Regions from separate parts of the Homo sapiens genome. Here region 2 is linked to region 1. The links are contacts of gene promoters, found by promoter capture Hi-C in human tissues and cell types (Jung and others, 2019). All regions are on one chromosome and are shown on one strand. Each heading gives the region's core, a stretch centred on a gene start or on the middle of the fragment in contact. The rest is flanking DNA. Distances are from core to core; before and after follow the strand shown. Region 1 holds the start of ZNF525 (zinc finger protein 525). Region 2 overlaps ZNF611 (zinc finger protein 611).

Region 1 (6,049 bases), core at 1-2,500:
CTTTTTAGATGTAAATCTGCTGAGCCGCTGTGTACCTTAAATAAACATCCTCCTGTCTCCCCCATATCAGTCTCTCTAGTCCTCAGTTTCCCGCAACACCATCTCTGCGCCTCCTCTGCTCTCCCCGTTAAATTCTCTCTTCTCTGTTATACCCCCTGTCCCCACTCTCTGGCACCCCAGATCCCCAGGTGTCCTCCCTGCTGTGGTTCTCCCTCTGTTCTCTTTGCCACCAGCACCACTCTGCTCTGTCTGCCCTGGCTCCAAATCCCTCCTCCTCTCCCTCACCCTGATGAGCCTCCCTCTTTGCTGTCCCTCTCCCTACCTTGCTGTCCTTCATCTCTCTGTACATCTAGCTTTTCTCTACATTTCTCTAGTTGCTTTTCTCCTCCTGCTTATCTTTTTTTTTTTTTTTTTCACTTTTGCTGTCTCTTGGCAAATCCCTCACCCATCCTCTACTTTGCCATCTGTTATGGGCCTTTCTCATTCTTCTTTTCTCTGTCTCAGGTTTTCTACTGCTGTCTGTCTCCCGATCCCTTTGGCCCACACAATCACAGGAGGGTTTGGAGTAAGACGCCTGCATCCCGGAGGAGCTTATTTTCCAGGGGCTGGAACTGGGCAGGCAAGAACACCCCGTGTCACAGGACAGAACCCGGGCACCTCCCCTAACGCAGGCTCAGGGCAAGCTGTGACTGCGGATGGGAGACCTGGGGAGCAGCAGGGCCCGGCATGAGGAGGGACGTGGGGGGCGACGGCGCCTTAAGACAAGGGTGGGGTTTGTAGGATCCCAGGACAGGCAGAGAACTCGGCCTCCCCGGGACCGGAGCTGCGACGCTGCGCTCTAGGGGCCGACGAGGGCGAGGCTGGGAGGCGCCCAGGGCGGGAATTCACCTCTCGGGTGAGGACTTTAAAAAGCGCGGGGCGGGAGGAGTCAGAAAAAGGTTTAGAGCAGGAAAACTACGCGATAGAAAGTGTATATATTGCCCTATAGCAGAAAGATCCGGAACGGGACCAGCCTCAGGGAGACTTTAAACCCAAAAGGAAGTGACCCCCGGGCTCTCACGGGGACGTCTCAATTTGCTCTGGGCGAAGGAAGACGGGTGAGAATTTCCAGGTCTGTAGGGACCCCACGTCCCAGGGACAGAAGCGCCGGGGACCTGGGAAGAGCAGACTTCATACAAGATGGAGCGAAACTCACGCGCCGCTGAGGGACCTTCACTCCACGCGATCTGCTTCCGGGTTTGCGCGCGTCTGAGCGGGGAAGGACAGAAGCCAGGCCTGGGCGGGGCCTGCGAGGAGGTGGGCGGGGCCTGGGCCAGGTAGGGGTAGAGGCGGAGAGACCTTGCCCTTTAGTACCGGCAGAGGGCGGGGCGGGGCTGGGCTGGGGCGGGATCTGTGCGTCTCTCAGCCTCCCTCCCACCGCCTCTGTTTTTGGGTTTTGGAGGCGAGATGGCCAGGAAGGCCGATCCATGATTCAAAAGCCCTGGAATTGTCTGAAACGCGGATGCAAAGTAGAATGTGAAATGCAAAGCCCTGCTTGGGCAGAACTTACAATGTCATGCTGACGGCCCAGAGAATAGAATAGAAATCCTCTCCCTTTCTATTCTCCATTCACTCCGGAGGGAGAGTCCACCCTGTGCTCAGCTGCAGAGACTTCCCTAAAGCCACCGCCTGGGATGCTGGACGGAGTGCTCAGGCCAGCGAGGAGTGAGGTCACCACCTGCCGGATAAACACAGCAAGGATGCGGACGCGGGCGCGGGAGCCTGAGGTCCCATCTACTCAGGAAGCAGGGCGGGAGGATCGCTGAACCTGGGGGTCCAGGCCAGCCTGGGCGACAAAGTAACACCCCCTCCCGCAGGGCTCCCTTCCTCGTTTCTCTCTTTCTCTCTTTATTTTTCGTTGTTTTTTTTTTACGTTTTAAAATAAGAGGTTGATTGTATGAGATAGGGATCCAACATTGTTCTTTTCCATGTGGATATCCAGTTAGTTGTCCATTCCACATTTGTGGAAGAGATCTGTTACTTTCTTTTATGTATTTACTTATTTCTTTTCTTTTGTTTTGAGACAGAGTATTTCTCTGTCATCCAGGCTGCAGTGCAGTGGTGGGATCTCGACTCACTGCAAGCCTCTGCTTCCTGGGTTCAAGTGATTCCCCTGCCTCAGCCTGAAGGGGGCCTGCCCCTCCACACCTGCGGGTGTTTCTCATCAGGTGGAGATGAGAAACTGAGAAAAGAAATAAGACACAGAGACAAAGTATAGAGAAACAGCAGTGGGCCCAGACAACCGGAGCTCAGTGTGCGAGTACCCGCACCGGCGCTGGTCTCTGAGTTCCCTCAGTATTTATTGATCACTATTTTTACTATCTTTGTGAGGGGAGTGTGGCAGGGCAACAGGGTGATGGTGGCGAGAAGGTCAGCAGGGAAACGTGAGCAAAGGAATCTGTGTCATGAATAAGTTCAAGGAAAGGTACTGTGCCTGGATGTGCACGTAGGCTAGATTTATGTTTCTCTTCACACAAACATCTCAGTGTAGCAAAGAGTCACAGAGCAGTATTGCTGCCAGCATGTCTCACCTCCAACCACAGGGCGGTTTTCTCCTACCTCAGAATAGAATGAATGGTCGGCTTTACACCGAGGCATTCCATTCCCAGAAATGAGCAGGAGACAGAAGCCTTCCTCTTATCTTGACTGCAAAGAGGCCTCCCTCTTTCACTACTCCTCCTCAGCACAGACCCTTCACGGGTGTCGGGTTGGGGGATATAAGGTCTTTCTTTTCCCATGAGGCCATATCTCAGGCTGTCTCAGTGGGGGGAAACTTGGACAATACCCAGGCTTTCTAGGGCAGAGGTCCCTGCGGCTTTCCGCAGTGCATTGTGTCCCTGGTTAACAGAGAATGGAGAATGGCGATAACTTTTACCGGGCATACTGCCTGCAAACATATTGTTAACAAGGCACACCCTGCACAGCCCTAAATCCATTAAACCTTGATTCAATACAGCACATGTTTCTGTGAGCACAGGGTTGGGGCTAAAGTTACAGATTAACAGCATCGCAAAGCAGAACAATTTTTCTTAATACAGATCAAAATGGAGTTTCTTATGTCTTCCTTTTCTACATAGACACAGTAACAGTCTGATCTCTCTTTCTTTTCCCCACATTTCCCCCTTTTCTTTTTGACAAAACCACCATCGTCGTCATCACCCATTCTCAATGGTCGCTGTCTCTTCGGAGCTGCTGGGTACACCTGCAGACTAACAACAGACAGAACAGGAACACAAGGATTAATATGAAATTTACAATAGTGGAACTTGCGATGGTTTTAACCCAAGTGACCGGGTTAAGATTTGCGAGGCCATCAGCAGCTTTCGCGATTGCCTCAGTTCCTGGCACCAAATTTAAATGGGTTTTTGATGCCTCAAAAATTTTTCTTTTAATTTTGAAATGTCTAAAGTAAGATCATCTTCTCTTCCTTGTAGATGGCATCTAACCATGTCCCAATGATGCTCAGACTCATTATAGGCTTAGGATGTAATACAAAAATGTGACATATTCCAGTCACAGTGTAACCAGAAATGATGTTTCAAGCTCGTGAGCCTATCTCCCATCCAAACAACATTGTGTCTAAGGTCATTAATTTGATTTGCCAATTTTTGATCAATACCAGATTATGAATTCCACAATCTTGTAGAATTCTTTTGCCAATAATTAAAAAAGTTTACTGTCTGAGCAGAAGAGTACAATGAAACTCCTGCCACAGAGGCCGTAGCTGTGACTGCAATTAGTCCCATAATCACTGCAATTAAAGAATATTTTGGATCTATTTAAAATGGCTTTGAATACTTCAGTCAAAATATGGACGGATGGCGAGGCCTCCCACGGTCAGTCCATGGACACAGGGACCCACACGCCTTCTCTTGCTCTCACTAGCAGAATATGGTGCTGCCAATTAAAAGTCGAATCAATGCAAGTAAACAATCTGCAGTTTTCACAGGTTATAGTTTGGGAGTCTGGTTTAATAACTATATTTCCTACAACTAGCATATAAGGGGGCTTTATACAACTTTGCAAAGGAACTGTTAGACTGGAATTTAGGTCGATAGTATAAAATGGCTTGCGATCTCTTCTTTATATAGCTTGATTTCCAGATCAAATTCTAATGCAATATGAGGCCACAGTAAGCATCCATAATTGTGGATGTTCAGGACCAGAAACAAGACTTATTATTTTTAGTCTTGGAGTAGAGATTCCTTTTTCTCCCCATTCCAAAGGGTAGAAAGACTGTAATTTTTTGTGCTTATGTTTGTCTAAACTTTCTGTTAAGTCACTGTTAACAGCTGGACTCACTTGTGCACTGGGACATGACTGAGTTTGTCCTGTGCAATTGTGGTAGAATTGACCTCGACATGTCCAATCTATAATAGTTCCGAATTCATTGTTTTGTAATATCTCCGCACTATCGGCCACACATTCTTCCCAAACTAAAACTTCTGTGCCTTTTGATTCTTTGGGAATTACCTTGGGGCAAGGCTTTTGTTTAGGCCTAAATTGTAATGATCATTGATAAGAAAAGTCCTGTAAATAATTTACCTGTGGCCTGAGAGACATTCCACTTACCGTGTGATAAGTGAATCTACTGGTGGTACCGACAGTAGGTACTTCTACCAACCAATTTTGGATTGCAGGCATTAAACATGCTGGTGCTCTCCCTAGGCAAATAGGAGGATAACGATACCCAGTGGAAATATTTATCATCATTCCTTCTTCCTCAGGTTTGGCAGGGCAACGATCATCTGTGGGGCCAGGTACCCATGCACTATTATTAACATATACTTCAATAGGATTATCCATCCATGTGACTGCCCGAATTAAGGGCGGGAAAGGCACATAGGCCCAGTAGGTATAATTAGCTGCAGCTGCCCCTGCAGGCAAGGGGAGACTTACCACCGTTGATACAATCATCAAAGCTGCAAGCAGCGTGTTCTCTGGAGTTTGTGTCACCTTTGTGTTCTCTAGGCTTTTTTTTGGTAACTGTGTCAGCTTCTTTAATTGTGCCCAAGTCGGCGGCTCTGCTTTCTTGGTGGATGGCAACTTCATCTGTTCTTCTGACATCACCATTTTGTTCACCTTGTGAATCGATGGTGTTTGATTGTGGTGTTTCCATCTCCGTGGAGGTGCTTTTCTTTGCATCTCTGATGGGTTCATTGTAGAACTTTAAATGTCTAGTGGGTATCTAAACAGGAAGCTGATTTTCTCCTGGTGAAACACAAGCAAAACCTCTCCCCCAAGTTACCACCTTCCCTATTTCTCATGTCTTATTGTTGTTGTCTTTTTATCAAATCAGTTTTCCTTCATGTGGGCTGTTCTTTTGACCAGTAAGATGTTCTGCAGAGGTAGTAGTCTGATTTCTATACATGTTTAAAACATTTAAAGTATAGAATGCTAGATTAAGTTGCATCTGAGGAGTGGTACACTCCTTACTGTCTCCCCCTTCTCTTTAACTAATTGAGTTTTGAGTGTTCTATTAGTTTTTTTTAACTATGGCCTGTCCTTGAGAATTATAGGGAATTCCTGTTGTGTGTGTAATTTTCCACTGATTTAAGAATTTTTGGAAAGCTTTACTACAATATCCTGGTCCATTGTCAGTTTTGATTTTTTCTGGAACTCCCATGACAGCAAAACAAGACAATAAATGTTTTTTCACATGGGAAGTACTTTCTCCTGTCTGGCAAGTTGCCCACATGAAATGTGAATAAGTATCAACTGTTACACGGACACATCATAATCTTCCAAATGAAGGTACATGTGTGACATCCATTTGCCATAATGCATTAGGACACAGACCTCTGGGATTAACTCCTGCCTCTTGAGTGGGCAGGTGTAGGACTTGACACTGGGTACCATGTTGTAGAATATTTTTTGCCTGTTTCCATGTGACATCTGTGGGCGGCAAGCCACCCAGGCGCTGAGGCAAGAGAGCAAGGACACGAGCTGTTCCAGTATAATAAAATATAAAACAAGAATAGTTATACCAGATCTAGATCATAGACATGAT
Region 2 (6,049 bases), core at 974-3,473, 660 kb after region 1:
TCCCCCAAGTAGCTGGGATTATGCCTGGTGCGAGCCTGGCTAATTTCTGTATTTTTAGCAGAGATGGAGTTTCTACTAGTGATTCATCCACCTGCTTTTTAAAACAAATGAGTACTATTAGATGGCTTCATATAAGTTTTATAGTACACACTCAACTTCCTTTGTTTAATAATATTTGTCAGCCCTCAGTAATGTTGATGATGAGATGCCCCCTTTCCTGTCTCACTCTTTTCACTGTCCTGTTAGAAATAGCTTAGACTGGCCAGCCGCAGTGGCTTTGGCCTCTAATTCCAGCACTTTGAAAGGCTGAGGTGGGTAGATGGCTTGAGGTCAGGAGTTTGAGACCAGTCGGGCAAACATAATGAAAACTTGAACCTACTAAATTAAAAAACATTGGACGGGCATGATGTCTCACACCTATTATCCCAATATTTTGGGAGGCCGAGACGGGTGGATCACTTGAGGTCAGAAGTTCTAGACCAGCCTGGCCAACATGGTGAAACCCCATCTCTAGTAAAAATACAAAAGTTAGCTGGGTGTGTTGGTATGAACCTGTAATCCCAGCTTCTCGTGAGGCTGAGACATGAGAATCACTTGAACCTTGGAGTTGGATGTTGCAGTGAGCCATGATTGCACCACTTACTCCATCCCGGGTGACAGAGTTAGATTCTGTTTCCCAAAAAAAAAAAAAAAAAAAATTAGCCAGGCATGGTGGCATGTGTCTGTACTCCCTGCTACTCAAGAGGCTGAGGCATGAGAATCTCTTTAGGTAGGAGAATCGTGCCACTGCACTCCAGCCTGGGTGATGAAGCATTACTCAGTCTCAAAAACAGACAAAAAAAGAAATAGCTGAAACTGGAAAGCTTAAGACATAGAAATTTGTTGCTCATGAATCTGGAAAGTGGGAAATCCAAGAACAAGATGTCAGCTAGATTGGCTCCTGGTGAGAGCCTTCTTCATGGTTTAGCCCAGCCGTCTTCCTGCCGTGTCCTGATGTGGTGTAAAGAGGAGCAGGCAATGAGCTCTTTACTGTCTCTTTTTATAAAAGCACTAGTCTTTGCCGGGCATGGTGGCTCACGCCTGCAATCCCAGCACTTTGGGAGGCTGAGACAGCCAAATCACATGAGGCCGGGAGTTTGAGACCAGCCTGACCAACATGGAGAAACCACATCTCTACTAAAACTACAAAATTAGCCGGGAGTGGTGGCACATGCCTGTAATCCCAGCTACTCGGGTGGCTGAGGCAGGAGAATCGCTTGAACCTGCGAGGCGGTGGTTGTGGTGATCCTAGATCACGCTATTGCACTCCAGCCTGGGCAACAAGAGCGAAATTCTGTCTCAAAAATAAATAAAGAGTCCGGGCATGGTGGCTCACGCCTGTAATCCCAGCACTTTGGGAGGCGAGGAGGGCGGATCATGAGGTCAAAAGATTGAGACCATCCTGGCCAACATGGTGAAACCCCTTCTCTACTAAAAATATAAAAATTATCTGGGCATGGTGGTGCATGCCTGTAGTCCTAGCTACTCTGAAGGCTGAGGCAGGAGAATCGCTTGAACCCGGGAGGCAGAGGTTGCAGTGAGCCAAGATTGCACCACCGCACTCCAGGCTGGGCTACACAGTGATACTCCCTCTCAAAAAATAAATAAATAAAAATAAATAGTAAAGAGAGAAAGAAAAAAAGAAAGAAAAAATACAATTAAAAGCCCTAGTGCTATTCATAATTAGTCAACACCCATTACAAAACTCTCTAAAAGACCCCAACTGCAGGAACATCCTATTGGGGAATAAGAAATCTGATAGTGGCTTTTAGCCAATGCGAACATTCGGGCCAGGGAACATACATCATATTTTTTGTTCTTATTGTGCAATTTGTTTTATACAATGTTTTCTCTGATCTCAGTTAATAAATTTTCCTAGTACACATTCTATGTTTTATATTTTATGCATAGTGAACTAGATAACTATGGGGAATGCATATATATAAAATTGCTGTATTGCCTGGCTGTTACATAAGTGTAGTTGTGACATCATAATTACACTTTTCTATACTATTAGTCAATTCTTTCTTCCTTTGTTTATTTTTTTTTGAGACGGAGTCTTGCCCTGTCACCCAGGCTGGAGTGCAATGGTGCGATCTCAGCTCACTGCACCCTCCACCTCCTGAGTTCAAATGATTCTTTTGCCTCAGCCTCCAAAGTAGCTGAGATTATAGGCGCCCTCCACCAGGCCCAGCTGATTTTTTTGTATTCTTCGTAGGATGGGGTTTCCCCATGTTGGTCAGGCTGTTCTTGAACTCCTGACCTCATGATCCACATGCCTTGGCCTGCCAAAGTACTGGGATTACACGTGTGAGCCACCGTGCCCAGCCATTAGCCAATTCTTATTTCTTAAGATGCTGTGTATTTTCTTTATTTTATTTCATTTTTGAGACAGAGTCTCGCTCTGTCACCCAGGCTAGAGTGCAGTGGCGCGATCTGGGCTCACTGCAGTCTCCATCTTCCAGGTTCATGCCATTCTCCTGCCTCAGCTTCCAGAGTAGCTTGGACTACAGGCACCAGCCATCATGCCCAGCTAATGTTTTTGTATTTTTTTAGTAGAGACGGGGTTTCACTGTGTTAGCCAGGATGGTCTCAATCTCCTGACCTCGTGATCCGTCTGACTCGGCCTCCCAAAGTGGTGGGATTACAGGCTTGAGCCAAGGCGCCTGGCCTAATGCTGTGTATTTTCTTGGCCTCATACATCAGAAGGTAGTGATCTTAACATGTATTTCAGTTCTTATATTGTGTGCTGGTGGTTGAGTAGAAGTTGTGGCTTTTTTCTTAAGAGGGAGTTGTTTAGAATTCTGCAGGCTGTATAAATGTACTTATTTGCTTGCTGGTTTTATCTTGGGTTACAATATTTTATTAATTAATTTTTATAATTTTGCATATGGCTTTTCGGTATGTGGTATGCAATATAACTGACATGCACTATTCGTTAATGTCACAAAGTGCCACCAGGTGCAGTGGCTCACACCTGTAATCCCAGAACTTTGGGAGGCCGAGGTGGGTGGATTACTTGAGGTCAGGAGTTTGAGACCAGCCTGGCCAATATGGTCCCCATCTTTACTAAAAACACAAAAATTAGCCAGGCATAGTGGTGCATGCCTGTAGTCCAAGCTACTCTGGAAGCTGAGGCAGGAGAATCACTTCAACCCAGGAGGCAGAGGCTGCAGTGAGCTGAGATGGCACCATGGCACTCCAAGCTGGAGTGCAAGACTCCATCTCAAAAAAATAAAAATACAAAAAATTTTTGAAAAGTCACAAAGTGCCTGTTCTTATAGGTAATTTTATGACATTTATTCAGAAAAATATTCTATTAACTTTTTTTTTTTTTTTTTAGGTAGAGTCTCACTTTGTCACCCAGGCTGGAGTGCAGTGGTGTGATCCTGGCTCACTGCAACCTCTACCTCCCAGGTTTAAGTGATTCTTGTGCTTCAGCCTCCTGAATAGCTGTGACTACAGGCATGGGCCACCATACCTGGCTAATTTTTGTAATCTTTTCTTATCTTCTCAGTGCTATAATTGTTTGACAATACGGAATTTCCATTGCTTTTGGTTATCCTTACATGAGCTTGTTGTGGATTATTTACCAATATAGTATGTTGTGTGGGGAGTTTTTTTTTTTTTTTTAGCATTTATTTGTATAGAGTAAATATGCTTTAAATATGAAGAGTATATATTTTTCTCTTCACCGATGTGATGGTGATATGCTTTTTGCAAATTGTGATACAGTTCAGGGTCACAGTGGAAAAATACTCCTTACTTTAGGCTTACACATGTTTGTGCCCTGTCAGTGTTTTGTCATGACATAGGAAATAGGCTTTCATAGAATTGTCTTGAAGGACATGTAATCACCCTTTATTTACTAAAGAATATTGCTCCTTTCGTTTTCCTAAACTTTGAAGATGATGTTTGGGAAGTTCAAAATAAGTATCGTTTTTTGTGTCATATTTATGCACTTCAGTGTGATTTACCATCTGTACTTAATTGGAAATGTATTGGTGTTTATATTTTGTAGATATCTCTTCCAAATGCATGATGAAGGAGGTCTTGTCAACAGGGCAAGGCAATACAGAAGTGATCCACACAGGGACATTGCAAAGACATGAAAGTCATCACATTGGAGATTTTTGCTTCCAGGAAATTGAGAAAGAAATTCATGACATTGAGTTTCAGTGTCAAGAAGATGAAAGAAATGGCCTTGAAGCACCCATGACAAAAATAAAAAAGTTGACTGGTAGCACAGACCAACATGATCACAGGCATGCTGGAAACAAGCCTATTAAAGATCAGCTTGGATCAAGCTTTTATTCACATCTGCCTGAACTCCACATATTTCAGATCAAAGGTGAAATTGGTAATCAACTTGAGAAGTCTACTAATGATGCTCCCTCAGTTTCAACATTCCAAAGAATTTCCTGTAGGCCCCAAACCCAGATTTCTAATAACTATGGGAATAATCCCCTGAATTCTTCATTACTCCCACAAAAACAGGAAGTACACATGAGAGAAAAATCTTTCCAATGTAATAAGAGTGGCAAAGCCTTTAATTGTAGCTCACTCTTAAGGAAACACCAGATACCCCATTTAGGAGACAAACAATATAAATGTGATGTATGTGGCAAGCTCTTTAATCACGAGCAATACCTTGCATGCCATGATAGATGTCACACTGTTGAGAAACCTTACAAGTGTAAAGAGTGTGGCAAGACCTTCAGTCAGGAGTCATCCCTTACCTGCCATCGTAGACTTCATACTGGAGTAAAACGTTACAATTGTAATGAGTGTGGCAAGATCTTTGGTCAAAATTCAGCCCTTCTAATTGATAAGGCAATTGATACTGGAGAAAATCCTTACAAGTGTAATGAATGTGACAAGGCTTTTAATCAACAATCACAACTTTCACATCATAGAATTCATACTGGAGAGAAACCTTACAAATGTGAAGAATGTGACAAAGTTTTCAGTCGGAAATCAACCATTGAGACACATAAGAGAATTCATACTGGAGAGAAACCATACAGATGTAAGGTTTGTGACACAGCTTTCACGTGGCATTCACAGCTGGCTCGACATAGAAGAATTCATACTGCAAAGAAAACTTATAAATGTAATGAGTGTGGCAAGACCTTCAGTCACAAGTCATCCCTTGTATGCCATCATAGACTTCATGGTGGAGAGAAATCTTACAAATGTAAGGTTTGTGACAAGGCTTTTGTGTGGAGTTCACAACTGGCAAAACATACTAGAATTGACTGTGGAGAAAAACCTTACAAGTGTAATGAATGTGGGAAGACCTTTGGTCAAAATTCAGATCTTTTAATTCATAAGTCAATTCATACTGGGGAGCAACCTTACAAATGTGATGAATGTGAAAAGGTTTTCAGTCGTAAATCAAGCCTTGAGACACATAAGATAGGTCATACTGGAGAGAAACCATACAAATGTAAGGTTTGTGACAAGGCTTTTGCGTGTCATTCCTATCTGGCAAAACATACTAGAATTCATAGTGGAGAGAAACCTTACAAGTGTAATGAGTGCAGCAAGACCTTCAGTCACAGGTCATACCTTGTATGCCATCATAGAGTTCATAGTGGTGAGAAACCTTACAAGTGTAATGAGTGCAGCAAGACCTTCAGTCGCAGGTCATCCCTTCATTGCCATCGTAGACTTCATAGTGGTGAGAAACCTTACAAGTGTAATGAGTGTGGCAATACCTTCCGTCACTGCTCATCCCTTATATACCATCGTAGACTTCATACTGGAGAGAAATCTTACAAATGTACAATTTGTGACAAGGCTTTCGTGCGTAATTCACTCCTGTCAAGACATACCAGAATTCACACTGCAGAGAAACCTTACAAGTGTAATGAATGTGGGAAGGCTTTTAATCAACAATCACACCTTTCACGTCATCATAGAATTCATACTGGAGAGAAACCTTAGAAATGTGAAGCATGTGACAAAGTTTCCATTTGGAAATCACACCTTAAAGACATAGGAGAAT

What was found. The method cuts DNA at HindIII sites, captures the fragments that hold promoters and counts their contacts. A contact is called where the count stands out against the background at its distance.
Region 2: a fragment that was not itself captured here is called in contact with the fragment with the promoter of ZNF525 in region 1 in 1 of the 25 tissues and cell types used here (IMR-90 fibroblasts).

Annotation. Positions count from the first base shown.
Region 1 is chr19:53,360,906-53,366,954 of GRCh38, reverse strand. It overlaps ZNF525 (zinc finger protein 525), which reads right to left and starts at 1,250. Exons shown (of 4, transcript NM_001348156.2): 1 at 1,196-1,250. RefSeq lists silencers at 853-912, 1,313-1,362 and an enhancer at 953-1,202. The HindIII fragment of the contact is 12,378 bases long and covers 1-6,049 here.
Region 2 is chr19:52,704,876-52,710,924 of GRCh38, reverse strand. It overlaps ZNF611 (zinc finger protein 611), which reads left to right. Exons shown (of 6, transcript NM_001161499.2): 6 at 4,061-6,049. The coding sequence ends at 5,988. Among named protein-coding and RNA genes, the nearest start is that of ZNF611, 27 kb to the left of the region's middle. The HindIII fragment of the contact is 5,966 bases long and covers 1-5,206 here.